Linked DNA regions of Homo sapiens: regions 1, 2 and 4 are each linked to region 3. The links are contacts of gene promoters, found by promoter capture Hi-C in blood cells and fetal thymus (Javierre and others, 2016). All regions are on one chromosome and are shown on one strand. The core of a region is centred on a gene start or on the middle of the fragment in contact, and the rest is flanking DNA. Distances in the headings are between cores, read along the strand shown.

Evidence for each region. The method cuts DNA at HindIII sites, captures the fragments that hold promoters and counts their contacts. A CHiCAGO score of 5 or more calls a contact.
Region 1: a fragment that was not itself captured here is called in contact with the fragment with the promoter of LIN7C in region 3 in 2 of 17 cell types (total CD4 T cells and total CD8 T cells); the score reaches 7.9 in total CD4 T cells.
Region 2: a contact is called between a fragment that was not itself captured here and the fragment with the promoter of LIN7C in region 3, in 1 of 17 cell types (non-activated CD4 T cells). The highest score is 7.8, in non-activated CD4 T cells.
Region 4: a contact is called between the fragment with the promoter of HTATIP2 here and the fragment with the promoter of LIN7C in region 3, in 4 of 17 cell types (non-activated CD4 T cells, total B cells, activated CD4 T cells and 1 more). The highest score is 11.6, in non-activated CD4 T cells.

Annotation. Positions count from the first base shown.
Region 1 is chr11:20,383,645-20,386,344 of GRCh38, forward strand. HTATIP2 (HIV-1 Tat interactive protein 2) reads left to right here. Exons shown (of 5, transcript NM_001098522.2): 5 at 1-138. Among named protein-coding and RNA genes, the nearest start is that of PRMT3, 2.7 kb to the right of the region's middle. RefSeq lists a silencer at 1,266-1,466 and an enhancer at 1,399-1,900. The HindIII fragment of the contact is 813 bases long and covers 845-1,657 here.
Region 2 is chr11:32,581,496-32,584,195 of GRCh38, forward strand. EIF3M (eukaryotic translation initiation factor 3 subunit M) reads left to right here and starts at 2,336. Exons shown (of 11, transcript NM_006360.6): 1 at 2,336-2,434. The coding sequence starts at 2,393. RefSeq lists enhancers at 2,047-2,699, 2,342-2,491 and a silencer at 2,122-2,181. The HindIII fragment of the contact is 1,283 bases long and covers 768-2,050 here.
Region 3 is chr11:27,505,483-27,508,182 of GRCh38, forward strand. LIN7C (lin-7 cell polarity scaffold C) reads right to left here and starts at 1,287. Exons shown (of 5, transcript NM_018362.4): 1 at 1,234-1,287. The coding sequence starts at 1,270. BDNF-AS (BDNF antisense RNA) reads left to right here and starts at 1,370. Exons shown (of 7, transcript NR_033315.1): 1 at 1,370-1,416. RefSeq lists enhancers at 848-2,047, 1,204-1,333, 1,404-1,693. The HindIII fragment of the contact is 9,378 bases long and covers 1-2,700 here.
Region 4 is chr11:20,362,333-20,365,032 of GRCh38, forward strand. It overlaps HTATIP2 (HIV-1 Tat interactive protein 2), which reads left to right and starts at 1,382. Exons shown (of 5, transcript NM_001098522.2): 1 at 1,382-2,100. The coding sequence starts at 1,906. RefSeq lists silencers at 1,383-1,802, 1,589-1,731. The HindIII fragment of the contact is 1,649 bases long and covers 282-1,930 here.

The DNA of each region.
Region 1 (2,700 bases), core at 1-2,500, 7.1 Mb before region 3:
GTGCTAATTCACTACATGTAATTGTGTAAGTAAACATTGTGCCTTTACTACTTCTTTATGTAATAGAAGTTATATACCTAAGCTTATATAATACATGGGGAGGATTAAATAAAGGAATAAAGATGAATGGACAACTCCTGGGTGCCTCTTAGATTGCTTGAAAATGCCCATGTAGTGTGATATGCAGCATTTCAGCCTATGGGGTGATATAATAGCAGCTAATATTTACCAAATGCTTGCTAAGTACCAGTCTTTACATGTGTTATCTGTGCTTTAACCCTCTTATAAACAATCCTTATAAAGTGATACTATCATGATCTTCATGTCTTAGATGGGGAAATGAGGCTCACTGTGGTTAAGTGCCTTGCTCAAGAGTCCAAATCTGAAGAACTGAAGCAAAGAAATGGCAGAGTCAGGATTCTAACCCAGGTCTGCCTGATCCCATAGATCCCATATATCGTGTTTTTAAGCACCCTGCAAAAGCATTCTGTTCCCGTATATTTCCAGGTAGTTCCAGTTGATTGTTACTACATGTTGTGGATGAACAAAATCGAAATATTTGGGTTTCTCCTTTGTTCTAGTGATTAATTACTAAATGTTCACATAGCCAGTAAAATTCTATGCCACCAAACTTTAAAGTGCTCATGCTGCTGCACTTTAAAAATTAAGGCAAAGGAAGATGCAGAAGGAAGGGTCAAAGCCAAGAGGAACATACATTGCTAATTTCCATCATAGAACAAAAGATGTTAATGTAACTTGTCTTAACGTCTGCACCAGGGAAGCAAAGTGATTCGAGGGACTCAGTCAATTCTTCCAAGGCCTACTGTATGCCAAGTACATTTCAAGCTTCAGTATACACTGGAGGATAAAGGCCATTCTCCTTAATTTGGAGTGTATATCCTTAGAAGGGAGAAGACATTCCCAGTGTCAGTCACCCAAAAAAGAGGCATATTTTAGGGCAGGGTGGGATATTGAAATGTGAGCTTTAAAAGGAAATGAAATATCTTCCTTCTGCCAGGTGGGGTTCCCTGGGAGTTGGACTTTGAAGAGCCTAAGTGTGTTGTTTTGATGGTGAAAAAGCATGGGCCGAGGATATGTTGAGGCCTCTGGGCTCTGAAAGCAGCTAAACCCAGTGGCCTGTTTTAAGTTATTCTCCTTATATTATTTCCTTACTCACAAACCTTCGAGCAGGTTTCATTCAACATGTTATTCTGGTCTCAGTAGTGATGTGGGATAATGAGGAAGGGTCTGTGTTCACCTTTGGAGTAGAGAGAAAAGCAGCCCTCTCTTGAGCTCTGCATTGTGGTGAGATATGAACTTACTAAGGAACAAGACTCTGGCCCAATCACTCCTCCACAATGGGTGTTAACTTGTTTTATTGTCAACACTGAATGGACTGGGTGTTCCATTTAGTACTAAGGGATTCAGGAAGTTTTCCACCAAATGTTACACAGACAGAAAAAGTTTATGTTGGAAGGATGAAGGGAAAAGTTGGATGGGCCCAGGTAATCAAGTGTTCATTAATTCATTCAGCAAATGCTTATTCAGTGCCTTTCATGTGCCACTGAGCACACAGGCACTGGGGATGCATCCATGAACGATGACTCCAACTCAAGAGAGCCAGCAGCTATTCTGGCAATGTCCTAGGATGTAAGAAAGCTTCAAAATTAATATTTGGGCCGGGTGCGGTCAATCACGCCTGTAATCTCAGGACTTTGGGAAGCCGAGGTGGGCAGATCACTTGAGGTCAGGAGTTCAAGACCAGTCTGACCAACATGGTGAAACCCTGTCACTACTAAAAATATAAAAATTAGCCAGGCATGGTGGTGAGCACCTATAATCCCAGCTACTTGGGAGGCTGAGGCAGGAGAATCGCTTGAACCTGGGAGGTGGAGGTTGCAGTGGGACAAGATCGCACCACTGCACTCCAGCCTGGGCAACCGAGCGAGACTCTGTCTCAAAGAAAAACAAAAACAAAAACTAATATTTAATGGATTCTGTCCTCTAGGAATTTACAATTAAGGGAGAAAAGTACATTTAGAAGTACATTTAGCAATAATATAAGGCATCATTTTTATTCAGTGAATACATTCAGTATCTATTAATACTATGGGCCAGGCCACATATTATGTGCCAGAGAAATGAAAGTAAAGAGACATGGCCCTTACTTACCCTTATTGTTCAGTGCTGTGGGGTATCACCAAAAAAGAAAAAAAAATCAAGTAAGCAAATGGTGGGTGCTAAGAAACTAACAGGATACTCCTGAAATAATGGTGGAAACTATTTTAGAAATGGCCTGAGGAAAGTGTTTCTGGTTGAGACCAAAGGGACCTACCCATGTGTAGAACATTCAATGATTAGCAGTAAATAAAAGGCTTAAGGGTGGGACCCAAGGTGAAGGGTTCCATTGGAAAGAGGCAGGATTATGCAGGGCCTGATAGGCCAATTAGATAAACTCTGCTAGAGCCTGGGGCACTCCCTCCTAAGCAAGAATTCTGGGCCGGGCGGTGGCTCGCGGGCAGGTGGATCACCTGAGGTCGGGAGTTCCAGACCAGCCTGACCAACATGGAGAAACCCTGTCTCTACTAAAAATCCAAAATCAGCCGGACGTGGTGGCGCATGCCTGTAATCCCAACTACTCGGGAGGCTGAGGCAAGAGAATCGCTTGAACCCGGAAGGTGGAGGTTGCGGTGAGCCTGA
Region 2 (2,700 bases), core at 159-2,658, 5.1 Mb after region 3:
GTTTAAAGTTTTAAATAACTGTCCATATCCTCTCTCAAGAATTTCCCTGGGTGTTCTTTTACTTCACAAGGATCACAGAATGAAAAAAAAAATAACAATAGTAAAAAAGAGACAAGTCTTTTAAATATTTGATAAAATGGTATTGTATTGTTGAGTTTGTATTCCTCGAACTTTGCAATAATAAGGCGAGGGGAGGAGCCCAGGGATTATTCCTTCAGAATCAACTGGTATTTCCTGATGATCTGCTGTGGGCTGGGCACTGAGGTGGGTGCGGAAATGCAGGGTGAACATGACACAGGTTCCCTGCCTTCAGTTTCACTTTCCACATTGTTAAGGCTATTCCATGCAAGAATGAATCCTTTCAAATTTAGTCTAGCCAGATGTTTTGTGTCCTCTATCCCCTCAACCTTGTTTTTTTCCTTTGCTTGGCATTTATTTTATATTGAAGTATAATTGTGGTATCAATAAACTGCACATTTTTGAACTGCACACTTTGAAAAATGTTATATATGTATACAATCATGACACAATCACAGTCAAAATAATGAACACATCCATAACCCCCAAAAACTTCCTCAAGCCCCTCTGTATCCATCTTTCCCCCCGCCTTACCCAATCCCTGCCCCCAGGCAACAGCAATCTATAATGCTGTCATTATAGTTTCTACTTTCTAGAGTTTTATATAAATGGAATCATACAGTATGATGATTAACTGAACAAAATTATTTTGAATTATTTTGGGATTGTCAACTAAAGAAAAAAAATCAAGCTTTTATTTTAAGAGATGGAGTCTCACTCACTTTGTCACCCAGGCTGAAGAGACTGAAAAAAAAAAAAGATTCATCTGTGTTTTTGCATGTATCAATAATTCATCCTTTTTTGTTGCACAGCAGTATTCCATTAAGCAGATGTATAACAATTTTTTGATCCACTTCATTCATCTATTGATGAACATTTGGGTTGTTTCCTTTTTTTTGGCTATTGAAAATAAAGTGTTAACTTTTTGGAAACTGTCTCCTGAAAAAGCTAAACATAAATTTACTAAATAAGCCACTGATTCCTCTCATAGGTACATACCTAAGAGAAATATACGTACACACAAAATCTTGTGCACTAACGTTCATGGAAACATTATTCATAATAGCCAAAAAATGGAGACAACCCAAGTGTCCACCAACTGATGAACAAATCAACACAATGTGGTATATCCATAACAATGCAATATTATAAGCAATAAATAGGAATATAGGAGGGATACATGGACGAACCTTGAAAACATTATGCTAAATGAAGTAAGTCTGACTTAGGCCACCGTGTATTTTGTGATTCCACTTACATGAAATGTCCAGAAAAGGCAAATTCATAGAGACAAAATGTAGTGTTTGCCAGGGGCTGGAGAGAGGTGGGGCCGGGGGTCTGGGGAGTGATTGCTGATGGGTAGTTTCTTTTGTAGGTGATGAAAATGTTCTAAAATTAAATAGTAGTGATGGTTGTGCAACTCTGAAAATACTAAAAACTACTGAATTGTGTATTTATTTTATGAGACGGAGTCTCGCTCTGTCGCCCAGGCTGGAATGCAGTGGCATGATCTGGGCTTACTGCAACCTCCTTCTCCCAGGTTGAAGTGATTCTCCTGCCTCAGCCTCCCGAGTAGCTGGGATTACAGGCGCGCACCACTATGCCCCGGTAATTTTTGTATTTTTAGTAGAGACGGGGTTTTGCCATGTTGCCCAGGCTGGTCTCCAGTTCCTGACCCCAAGTGATCCGCCCACCTCGGCCTCCCACAGTGCTGGGATTACAGGCGTGAGATCCACTGCGCCCAGCCAAAGCTGCTATTTTTTAAAAGCGGCAATGAACATTCTTGTACAAGTCTTTGTACGGACATACAGTTTGGGTAGAAGAATAGCTGGGTCATATGCTGGGTGGATACTGAACTTTTTCAGAAACTGCCGCTCCTCTGCAAAGTGACTGCACCATTTTATGTTCCCAACAGCAGTACAGGAGAGTTTCAGGTCTACACAAACCCATCCATACTTGGTAAGACCCAACAAGCTTAACATTTCAAGGGAAGGTGGACTTAGGGAGGCGCCAGCGGGAGGCAACATCAATGCAGTTAGCTACACGGGCCTGAAAACTGGAGGCCGCGACAAGCGTCGCTGAGTGGAGGCCCAGTAAGTCCCACCCACTAGGCCAGCCCGAGCGCGTCTGCCACGCCCTGCTGCATTCCGCGGCGAGAGCGCGCGATAGGATTGGCTCTCAAGGCCCCGCCCCAACAGGTCGCCGCTCAGGGTGACCCGGAAGCAGTTGCGCCAGCAGCGTCGCGCGGCCCAGTTCCCTTTTCCGGTCGGCGTGGTCTTGCGAGTGGAGTGTCCGCTGTGCCCGGGCCTGCACCATGAGCGTCCCGGCCTTCATCGACATCAGTGAAGAAGATCAGGTGTGCTTCGGTCTACGGGTGCCGCCACGGTGGGGTGGGGGATGTCCTAGTAGCGCAAGGGACCGCTGCCGAGCCTGGGCCGGGCGGCCGGGGCTGACACCCGCAGCTGTTCTACACGCGAGAATGGGGAGGCCGGTGGCTGGGGCGCGCGTTCCTGGCCTCGATTCGCACCAGCTCGCCGGCCGGCGGTCCCAGCGCGGGGCCCGACGCTTCACCGCCAGCTCCCTGGTCGGCGTCGGGACTCATTTCTGACGACATAGTACTTT
Region 3 (2,700 bases), core at 37-2,536:
AGGCCTAACTCGGCAAGTCTTCCCAGAGTAGCTAGTCCTCTAAAATGATGCTTTAATAGGCTTAACGGAAACAATCTCATTTACAGTGAGGCTTCCAAATGGTGAACACGGTAAAGAGCAAATCAGCAACATTAAGTGCACATTTGTTTGTGGGAAGGCATTAGGAAAGAGGTTTTTCTAAGTACAGTAATTCTAAAAATGTGTTTTCTTAGGGAACAATAGTAATATTTAGACTAATTGCAAATGTTAATATGTGCAATATAATTTCAGTCTCCATCCTACATATACATTTTTTTTTACCACCAGTACTCAAAATGTTTATTTGTACTTCTCAATTCCTATCAATGATTTCTAATGCTGGTGTATGAAAAGCATGCTTGAAATTGTTTGAAATAAAGGACTTAGGGACAGAGTGGAATGCTGGAAATCTGTAAAAGGACTGGAAACGCTGGAATGCTGGAAATCATGGTAGGCGCATAGCCAGTTATTTTCGTAGGCTTCTCTATCTCTAATTACTCAGCAGAGGTGGTTTTATTTTCCTTGACAGTCTGCTCTAGGAAGCAATCAGCCAACCAGTTTGCAATTGTAGGGTTTGTAAGAAATGAAAAACACTGCACCTGCAAGTGTTTTAGCATCTACCACTATTCGGCTTACTTACGTAACCTCCTTCCCAAGACCAAGTCAGTAGGATTGTTTTTAAAGCAACCTCTCCATTTCTAGGAGGGGCACAAAAGCTAGCAAATACCCCAACCCGAATACAAGCGAGGTTGTGGAGAAAGTAATGAAGGAGTTTGTGTGCAAACAGCGGGGAAAGGAGGTTCTGTTGAATTGTACCGTGTGTCCGTTCTCGTGCTGTACAGGCAATGAGTGTAGTCTGTGCGAACCGGGTGTGTGACGTTTGCTTTTCGGGTGTACGGGTCTCCGAATGCTGCTTCTGCTGTGCTCACCAAGGGAGCGCGTGTGCGGCGTGTGTCTGCGAAGCGGGCAGGTTGTGTTTAGTTGTGCTGTGCCTTGGAACAGTCCGTGTGAACAGAGGAGGGCTTACGGTTAACAGACAAAATACCGTAAGCGCCCTTCCTAGAGCCAGGCACAGAGACAACGGCGGCCTCTGGCGCCGGCACAAGGGACAGCGTGGCCCGGATCTCAGAGCCTGGGTCACTCCTCCTCCCCTCCAGCGACACAGCACTCCCCCAACCCTTCCGCCCACCTCCGCCGAGCCTCGGCTGCACTCACCTCTCTCCAGCCGCACGGGTTCCCCTAGCGCCGCCATCTTCTCCCTTAACCTACAGACCCACAGGAAATGACGACAGAAGGGCTGAGGTGGGGGGGCGGGGCCTAGGGGAAGCCGGAAAAGTGAGTACCGGCTAGTATCGCGAGATCAGGAAGGTGGCCGAGTGTGTCGCCGCGGCCATCAGGGTAAGGGTACCTGGACTTGCGGCTTTTTAGGTCGGCCTGGCTCCGCTCCTTCCGCGGTGACGAGGTCCCCCGGCCTCCTAGGGTTGGGAAGAGCTGCTTTCCTGACTCTCGTTCCCTGCCTCAGGCTTCCCTTATCCCAATCGCTTCGAACCCTTGGCTCAGCGTAGAGGAGTCAAGCCTGGATTCTAGTCCCACCTTGCCCATTAGCAGCTCTGTGACCTGGGACTGTTCACTTACCCTCTCTCAGCCTCAGTTTCCGCATCTGTACAACGAGAGGTCCTATCTCTTAGGTCCTTACAATTTTTAAACTCTGGGATTCGGTGGCAATTAAATGTGTAATGACATGTTGTCAGTTCTCAATTTGTGACAGCATTGCTTTAAATTTAAAAATCCACGGCTTGAATCTTCCCTCCAAATCTGTTAAGGGGTGGAAAGTACAAAGAGCATGAAACATATCTGGGTGAGGGAGAGAACAAGGTGCTTTGGTGCACCACAAAGTAACAATTTTATAAGCAGCTGATTCTTATAAAATCTTAAGTAAATGAAATATTGTGAAGCAAATAATATTCTTAATGCATTACAGATTTTTGAGCCACTTCTGAAATTTTCGCGAACCAAGAAGAATTTTAGTACTTGGATTTGACTAACATTTATCCAAGCCCTTAGTCTGTACTGATACTGTGGTAGGTGTGTTTACATCCAGCATTTCAACACTTCATGATGGGACTGTTTTAATAACCTGTTTGCCCCTGGTCCACCCTTTCCATTCACCTTTAGTATTTTCTTCTCCAAATCCATCATGGATGCCACCACTATGCTCCTTTTTCTCCCCTTGAATTCTGATTTCATCATCACAAGTTCTGTTCAGAAACTTTCAATGGTTTCTCTCCTGTTTCCTATTTCTAAAGCCTTGCATACTCTGACCCTAACTCATCCAACTAACTTCATTTCTCATTACCACTAAGTGCAACCACCACTTCAGTCCAGATAGTATAGTTTCAACCATATTTATTCCTGATTCCAAGTCTTTTTGTTTGTTTTAGAGACAGAGTTTCTCTCTGTTGTCCAGACTGGAGTGCAGTGGTGCAATCACAGCTCAAGAGAGCCTCCTGTCTCAGTCTTGCCAGTAGCGAGGACTACAGGCAAGCACCACCATGCCTGGCAAATTTTTAAATTTTTAGTAGAGATGGGGGTCTTGCTATGTTGCCCAGGCTGGTCTCAAACTCCTGAGCTCAAGCAGTCCTCCTGCTTTGGCCTCCCGAAGTGCTGGGATTACAGGCGTGG
Region 4 (2,700 bases), core at 132-2,631, 7.1 Mb before region 3:
GAACCTTTAGGTTCTGTACATTTTATTGTATATTAATTATGCCACAATTTTAAACAAAGGGGAAGAATAGACAGGGTACAATGAATAATTTCTGTGACAGATTTGATAAATGAATTACTAGGACAGTGTTTGCTGACAAGGTTTAACATTGCATTCTTGTAGAAAACCTTTAGGAACTCAAAGGGAAGAGTCCAGGCACTGTGACAGGCCAGTGGGGAATGAACCACACTGCTCTATATTAATCAAGCTTTTTTATTGCAAACAACAGAATATATCTGGTAAGCTTATACAGCACAGGAATTTATCAGAAGAATAACAGGAAGTACTGTATTCACAACAGTCTCTGAAAACAGGCAGGAATTTAAGACAAGATCAGACCATCAGATGGCTGGTGGATCATATGATGCCATAATCCTATACCCTTGCCCCAACCAACCCACATATATCTCAGGCCTTCACTGCATCTTTTCATTACTCCTCCAAAACTGAAAACCTATGCGTGAGCCTCTGGCTTGCTGAGCCTAGGCAAAGCCTACATATAATAACTCCCATGGAGATGGAAGAGGCAATGTGTTTCATTGGCTTCTAGATGGGAGGTGGGGCCCCCAAATGACCAATGTTCCCAACAAAACCTGAACAATCTGAAATTATTCAGATTTCTGCTTGTCATTCTAACCTCTGTTCAGGACTTCCAAGATCCAGGACAGGCCCAGTGTAGATACCTGTGTCCCAAACCACTGATCTGGGCTAGGAAGACTGAATCACAGGTGTGGAAGGTCACCCGGGTTCAACCATCTAGGTGATGAATTAGGCCAGGACCTGGGCAGGTAGACCATTTATTCTGGGGAGATATGATGCGAGCTTGAATTACATGGGAGAAATATTTGTAAGGCAGATGGGATAACAGGACTTGATAAGTCTGTAGTGTGGAAAGGCTAGAAAAGAAAGGAATCAAAGGAATCCTGATTTCTGACTTGACAGGGTAGAAGGAGGTGTGTGTGTGTGTGCGTGTGTGTGTGTATGTTTATGTAGGGACAGTGACACCCAAGAGAGGCTAGGAATAGGTTTGTTTTATTCCTGTTTGGGGTGGTTGGGTAGGCAGGGTTAAGTTTTTGACTTGGTGAATTTGAGATGATGGCCAATATACAATTGACATTCCAGCTGGGGGGACCATTGAAGATCAAGTCTGGCAAGTCTACTAGCTGGCGCCTGGGTGAGCTGAGCCCAGCAGGTGAGGGAAAACGCGGGAAGAGGGTCTTGCAGATTCCAAACTTAGGAAGGGTCGCGGCTCCGCGCACGTGCTCTCGGGGTCACCTTCCCCGCGCCTGTGAGGGTGCCAGGAGTTCGTCTCCAGGTCCCGCCCCTGTGGGCGGGGCGAGGCAGCGTCGCCGCGAGGCCACCCGGAAGACCAAGCCGGGTAGGCGCTGTCTCCGTCGCCTCCAACCCCCCCGGTCCGACCAGGGAAGGTGGGATGCTCTGATGGCCGGGCCTGCGGCGCTGAGCGCGGCGGCGGCGGCTGCTCTGGCGGCCGCCCTGCTCCTGCTGCGTCGTGAGGACCCGGGGCCGGGGGCTGGCCCCAGGTAACCCCTCCGCGTATGGGACCGAGCTGGGCCAGGTCTCCTGGCCGGGCCGGGGATACCGTGGGGTATGCCCAGTGATGCCAGCAGCTTGTGGCACCTGGGCGCACCCTCCAGCTCGGGCCCCTTCCGATGGGTCTGCTGGCTCAGGTGCGGGCGATGGCCGGGGAGCCGCGCCCCGCACGTGACTCAGCACTTTCCCCAGAGCCCGGACTGCGGAGAACAATATCCTCCTCCCTAACAGATAAACAGCCCTTGTTCCTCGGGATAAGGACTGGCAGTCCCCTGACACCCTAAGACCGGCATCTGTCGATGTTATTTCCCCAGCATGGCCGAAACAGAAGCCCTGTCGAAGCTTCGGGAAGACTTCAGGATGCAGAATAAATCCGTCTTTATTTTGGGCGCCAGCGGAGAAACCGGCAGAGTGCTCTTAAAGGAAATCCTGGAGCAGGGCCTGTTTTCCAAAGTCACGCTCATTGGCCGGAGGAAGCTCACCTTCGACGAGGAAGCTTATAAAAATGTGGTGGGTATTTCAGCTGGGACTCAAATGGACCCCCAGGATTCTGCGAGGTGAACATATTTCATGCCTAAAGGCTGAATACTGCCCTGCCAGTGGTGGGGGTAGTGAGAGGCCATCAAAACTTGGCCAAGATTGGTCTGTGAGAGTCCCTCCCAGAAGTCTGACTCCTGGATTGTAGCCCAGGTGTGCCTCCCTCCCGCTCATTGTGTGGTCTTGGGCAAAGCCCTTCTCTCCATCTGCAACCCTATAAAGCTGGGTCTGGGTTGTAATGGGGGTGGGGGCTGGTGAGACAGAAGAGCACTGTTTTCAGGGTCATACAAGCTGTATTCTAGAGGCAGCCCTGGTGACCTTGAGAATTTTCTCAGCCACTTTGCTGATTTTGTCAACCTGCGCACTTCACACTAATATTGTCAGGGATTCTGAAACTGCTTTGCAGAGTGAGATAGGTCTATGGCAGTGAAAGGTGGGATTATTCACTTACAAGAATTTGCCCTGCCTGACTTCCCAGGCTTGTGTCTGTAAATCGGATATTCCCTTCACTCTAAGTTAAAGGTTTTTTTTTTTTTTTTTCTGAGACGGAGTCTCACTCTGTCCCCCAGGCTG